Regions from separate parts of the Homo sapiens genome. Here region 2 is linked to region 1. Evidence: promoter capture Hi-C in 16 types of primary human blood cells and fetal thymus (Javierre and others, 2016). All regions are on one chromosome and are shown on one strand. Each heading gives the region's core, a stretch centred on a gene start or on the middle of the fragment in contact. The rest is flanking DNA. Distances are from core to core; before and after follow the strand shown. Region 1 holds the start of GABRB2 (gamma-aminobutyric acid type A receptor subunit beta2). Region 2 overlaps LOC105377700 (a long non-coding RNA gene).

Evidence for each region. Contacts are between HindIII fragments. The CHiCAGO score rates a contact against its expected background, and 5 or more counts as called.
Region 2: a fragment that was not itself captured here is called in contact with the fragment with the promoter of GABRB2 in region 1 in 1 of 17 cell types (M0 macrophages); the score reaches 5.3 in M0 macrophages.

What each region holds. Positions count from the first base shown.
Region 1 is chr5:161,545,014-161,547,974 of GRCh38, forward strand. It overlaps GABRB2 (gamma-aminobutyric acid type A receptor subunit beta2), which reads right to left and starts at 1,712. Exons shown (of 10, transcript NM_001371727.1): 1 at 1,554-1,712; 2 at 1,309-1,400; 3 at 214-281. The coding sequence starts at 1,630. The HindIII fragment of the contact is 2,842 bases long and covers 1-2,417 here.
Region 2 is chr5:163,362,137-163,364,985 of GRCh38, forward strand. All of the region lies in intron 1 of LOC105377700 (a long non-coding RNA gene), which reads right to left. Among named protein-coding and RNA genes, the nearest start is that of CCNG1, 74 kb to the right of the region's middle. The HindIII fragment of the contact is 231 bases long and covers 1,248-1,478 here.

The sequences.
Region 1 (2,961 bases), core at 462-2,961:
AAGTATCTGAACCAGGTTGAAAAAATCCTTAGGGACCAGAAAGAGTCAACTCTCTAACCTCAACACAGGGTATTCTAGGGTGAAATTCCATGCTCTCACCCCCACCTCATACACATAGCCAAGCACACCCCCACCCCCAATAGCTGGCTCATTTCTCCTTCCTGTCCCCAAACGAAAGTTTGCAAAGAAGTAGTCATAAATGTCAATACTCACCATATTGACTTCAGAAACCATATCGATGCTGGCAATGTCAATGTTCATCCCCACAGCCACGGGGGGACCTGCAAAGCAAGACGGCCAGCCACGTGATTTCTTTGAACTTCATTCATTCTCAGCAAGAGTTATCCCTGAGCATAAGACACTCTGCCCAAAACCCTTCTGCACTACTCAATCTCAAATTTTTCAATTCTCTGCTTTTTTTGTTAAAAAAAAAAAAAAAAAAGGTAGCAGGCACACACTCCTCTAACAAATGCTGTATTGAATATGCACACACGTATGCTGTGAACAAGGGATTCCAGCTCTGTCTACATATGCATATGTCTCAGCATGTGAATGCACACAACTCACAGAAGCACAAGAATCCTTCTAGTCTAAGGGATTTTTATATTTTGCGCTGAAACCCCCTCCTCCTCAGTCTTTCCCACCCCCTTCTGTGCACAGGTTTTAACTCTTTGAGCTTCATAAGAGTCTGAAGCAATATTAAGTGAGTCTATCAGCATATCTAGGGCTGCAGCCAGAGAGAGATTCTTCTTTCCCCTACCTTCTCTAACCCTCCCATTTTCTCCCTACCCTCCCATCCCCCAGTCCTCCCCATTTCTGTGAGGCTGGGAGGAGTGGATTATATCCAGACATGAGCCACTGTAACCCTGGCCAGAAGAACTCTTCCAAAGTAGGCAGGCACAGGGGGTTAACGCCACCTCTCAACCAACTGCCTGCACGTCTTGTCCTAAAAAATGTTAACGGTGGCCTTCCGCAAGCCGGGTTCTCTCGGCACACCATTAACTAAACTTAAGAGGTTTGTGTCTCAACAAAGCAAAGGCAGGGAAGCAAAGGATTCATAACAGTGAAGCTGAAAGACAGCAGTCACCAAATTTGAGTACACACTAAGAGGGTCTCATTGAAAGACCACGGAAGTGGTGGGTAGCAATAATCCAGCTTAAGTTTTGATCAGTTTCTCAATATGGTAAAATAGAGACACATTCAGGACACCACATGCACCCACAACTAGGGAGAGGGAAGAGAGCGCGCACAAAGCTCAAAAGACAGCTTCGGCTGTGGCTGGACTTATTTGCAAGGCAACCCCATTACCTCCAAAATCTGGTCTCAGACGAATGTCATAGCCTTTCAGGAGTCTATCCACCGTCTCTTTAACCAGCGACATATTACTAGGGTCATTGACACTAAAGAAAGAAATGACAATAAGCAGGCATCAATAAGGAAGCAGGCATAGCGTTTTCAGCATCGGATCCCTACTACATTTCCCTGCTCACAGAGGTATGCAGACAGAACCCTTCAAAGTGAGAACGGAAAAGAGAAACGCTGGGCACACTTACCTCTGCGCACAGACAGCGGCGATTATTAAGGGGAAGGACCAAATCCCAAAGTAGCCCCTTTTCCGCACTCTCCACATCCCTTTAGTTTTTGATGGAATTGAGGGTTTCACTGAAGAGAGGAGATCCAACTTAGTCTGCCCAGTGCAGTAATTCTAATGTGAGGCGCATGCGCACGGCGTACCAAAACATCAAAGGGGAAGCGGCGGCTGCCGGGGACCGAGCAGATTTCCTTGTTTAAAAAAAAAAAAAAAAATTAAAAGGGAAAAAGGAAAAACATGTATATGTATAATACATACATATTTGAATAATATAGAAAAGTCACCCCACAGCAGCATCCAGAATAAAATTTTTGTTGTTATCCTTTCGTTAAGACAAAATAACTACAGCGTCTGGTAAGTTTCGGTAGTTGCAAGAGGCAGTTTTGCACCGAGCGGGTTGTGGGTTTTTGGTGTGTGTGTGTGTCCTTTTAAATATGCAAAACCAGATTAGAAAATTAGAGGAGAGCAGGTGTGGCGTGCCAGCGGAAGATAGGTGCCGGTAAGCCCACTTCTGGTCTCAGCCGGACACGGGGCAAGGAGTTTGAACTTTATTTCCTTGGCAAATAGCATGCCCTGCCTGGGGCGAGACTGGGATGGGGGGGGCGGGGGTTGTGCAGCGGGTGGGAGGAGGGGGGAGGGGGCGTTGGGAGTCGAAGCGGGAGGGAGGGAAAAAACCAATGGGAGGAATGCTGAGCAACCCGTTGGATTTGGGGCGGGGGGTTGGGGAGGCGGGTACAGAATAAGAAAGGCACGGAAAAATAAAAAAGGAAGAAAGAGAAAGAAAAGAATAAAATAATGGCTGGTCTCTTCTAGTAGTCAAAGAGCAAGCTTTTCTTCACTACTCACGAGCGATTTCTTTCTCCTCTCCTCACCCTTTGCCCCCTATTCCCAGAGAAGAAAACCTCGGGGTCCTGTTTTCTCGCCGTGTGACGTTCCTGACCCGCTAGTCCGGGTTATTTATAGCAGGAGGGGAGGGGGGCGAGGGGAGCAGAAAGGCAATGCTGTCTCTCCAGGTTTCGGTCTGATTCTGCAGTGGGAATTATTAGTGGGCAGGGTGGGGTTTGCATGAGGGGGAGATGGGACGTGGAGGCGTGAGGGATGCGGGTGACGGGCGCCCTAGCGCAGGTGCGGGGGACTGGAGGGCGTGGGCGACCGCACAGAGCAGGAAGGGCAGGTGGCCGGGTGGGACGCGCCCCGGCCGGTCCCCCAGCGCCCCCTCCGCTGCGCGCACCCGCGCGCACACACGTGCAGGCGCACTCCCCACCCGCCGCCATCCCTCCTTACCTCGCAGGCCCGCGCTCGCCGCCCACTCCCGCGGCGTGCGGAGCTGGCGCCCCCGGCCCCTCGTCCGGGACAGGGGACGGGGACTC
Region 2 (2,849 bases), core at 113-2,612, 1.8 Mb after region 1:
TTTGTTTTTGTTTTCATTCTGAGTTTGGGTTCATTTTTTTGTTTTGGGGGGTTTTTTGCTGAATTTTTTCCAAGTCTGTATTTTTCCAGTATCTTCCAGATACTAATCACCTTCCAAGATTGCAAGTTTTTTGTCTTCAACTGACAATTAATTCATTAATTTAAGGGAGAACTATGGCTTGGTTAATATCATCTGCCTTTTTTTTTTTTTTAGATTTCTCAATGCATTAACTATGCCTCTAAAAATTAGAGAGCTTAAACATACACCAACTATTCTATGAAGTTGCAGAAAGGTTGAATGTTGTTTTGTTTTGAAGCCAATTTTATAATCTTGAAAAATCAAACTACTACTTCTTAAATACACATAGTATCATAAATTCAAAACGTCTCCCTGATCTGTATTTGGTACCCCAAGTTGATGACAGGGTCCACTGACCATTATTATCAATAAGTGTGTGCCAGCCATCAACAGACAGCACAGTATTTAAAAACCTTAAAAATTTTCATTCTTCCTACTCTCTGAGAAAATGTTTCCTATAGAAGGACATTTACAATCATCAGGCTAGCAAGTCTTGATCACTGGACTGAACTATTAGCATATATAAAGTCAAATATGCCTTTGCAGATGCTCATAAACAAAATATCCATTCCTTTGCCCTCCCCGCTAAGAAACACCATTTTTATATTGTTACGTGAAAAGATTTGGAGCCATGCTGATAAAAGCTAATTAACTGAGCAGTTACTATTTACCAGGCACTATGATAAGCACTTCAAATTCAAATATCAATTTATCATCATGACAGCCTGTGATAGCGGTTTCATTATCATTCTCATTTTACAATTTAGAAAACTGGTGATTAATGATTAACTGGCTGAGATCTAACAGTTATTAAGTAACAGAGATGAGGTTTGAATTTGTGGTCATCTGACTTCAACTCCTGTGCTACAAGTTTTCCTCCAAATTATCAGATTCTGGTGAAGTACAATGAGAACTGGGCTGAGATCCAAGAGATAAAAATGTTCTTCTCTCAGCTGTGATACAAAGTAACTGGGTAGTTTTGACCATGATATTTACCCTCTTTGGGTTTCCGTTTCCTCTTCTATAAAGAGTGGTAATTGGACTACTAGATGAATAATAAAATTGCTTCCAACACTAATATACCATGATTTAAGAGCAGCCACTTTGCACAAAAAGAGGAATAGAAAGACAATGGGAGCCATCTGGATGTGAAAATGATGAATGGCAAAAGCTTTTGGAGGGGATAGTCTCAGATTAGCATTCAGTGCCTTGGGGCCCACACACCACATTGCCAGTCTCCTGCAAATTGCCTGCAGCTGCACTGACCTAGCCTCTTAGACTGCAGAACCCTTGACAAAGTGTTCAAGGTATTTAGCCTTGGGTTTCCCTAAGAACCCATCTAACCCATAAAAATTAGAGGTCTTGTAATTTTGCCAATTTTGCTGTTAGAAGCGTAACAAAGCTTTTTTGTCTGAACTAAATTATCCCTTCATTCCAGATAGCAAGAATGCCTTTGCAAATTCTTTCTAGAGTAGCTGATAGTAGAGGATTTTCACATCAGTGAAAAAATGAAAACCATCTAAAGAAACAATCATAATGATATCATGATGGAAGAAAAGCTGTGTTAATCTCAGAAGCTATGTGTCTGTATCCACTTTTATAGGGTCATGCCTCAAAAATTCACCTCAATCCATAATGCCCAAGATTTCTACAGAATTTTAGGGATTTATATTCTCATTATTACTACTTCCTCTTATTTAGAAATCCTTCTTAAGTCTCAGTCTCACTCATGCTAGCCTCCCATTATGTTCTTTCTACCCTGCATGAACCCAAACATCTTCCAAATTATGATTCCCACAGGGCAGCGCTGGTGATGACAAAAGAGGATCTCTTCATAGCATACAGAGCAAACAGTCCTAAATCTAATATTACAAATCTCTGTTCTTAAAAATTTCAAAGCCATCTTTGCCATTGGGAATTTTTCAATGGCTATATTTTGTCTTGAAGTCCTGGCATCTCTCATCAGGTTGCCTGGCCCTCTCTTCATCTCCCTGGACCCTTGGGATACTCTCTCAAAGTCATATATCCCAAATGTTTTTATGCAGAAATGCTGGCTACTTCTCTTGCATTATCCTTCCAGACCATGTCTAGTGCCTATTTCTTCATACCCAAAAAGAACTCTACTACTGGCATGCCAATTTATAGTAAATTACTTTCAACTACATTGTCTGCTACCCAATCTTTGTACAATTATGTTATTGGAATATAAGTGGGAACTTTATGGCCCAGTCTCACCACAGTGTATTATTCAAACAAACAAAAAGCAATTCTGATTCTGACTCTTCAAGTTAACTGAGAGATTTGATTTAAAACAAAGTAATACTTTACTGCTTCACACTGATAGTGGCAGGAGGCAGACAAATGCCTAGGCAGATAGGGGTGGGTCCTTGGTGAAACCCCACCTTCAAACCAAAGACAGTTTAAAGTCTGAAAGCCAAGCTACAAGTCTTGAATAAATCCATGGACCAGATTAAGAGCCTCTCTTCCCATCTGGCATGCTTTCCTATCATTGATCCCTACCCCTTCACCTATTTACATATACTTACCCTTCCCTAATTGTTTTTTAACACTGTTATGTCCATCTTTGAGTGGTGGCTTTGTTTTAGCCTTTTTTGCATACTCACAAACCAATCAGCACGCACTCACCCATTCTGAGCCAATAAAAGCCCTGGGCTCAGCCACACTTAGAGACTGCTCACCTTTGGGCACCTGACTTCAGAGAGGAGGCTGCCCTCTTGGATCCCCTCCCCACTGAGAGCTGTCACTCAATA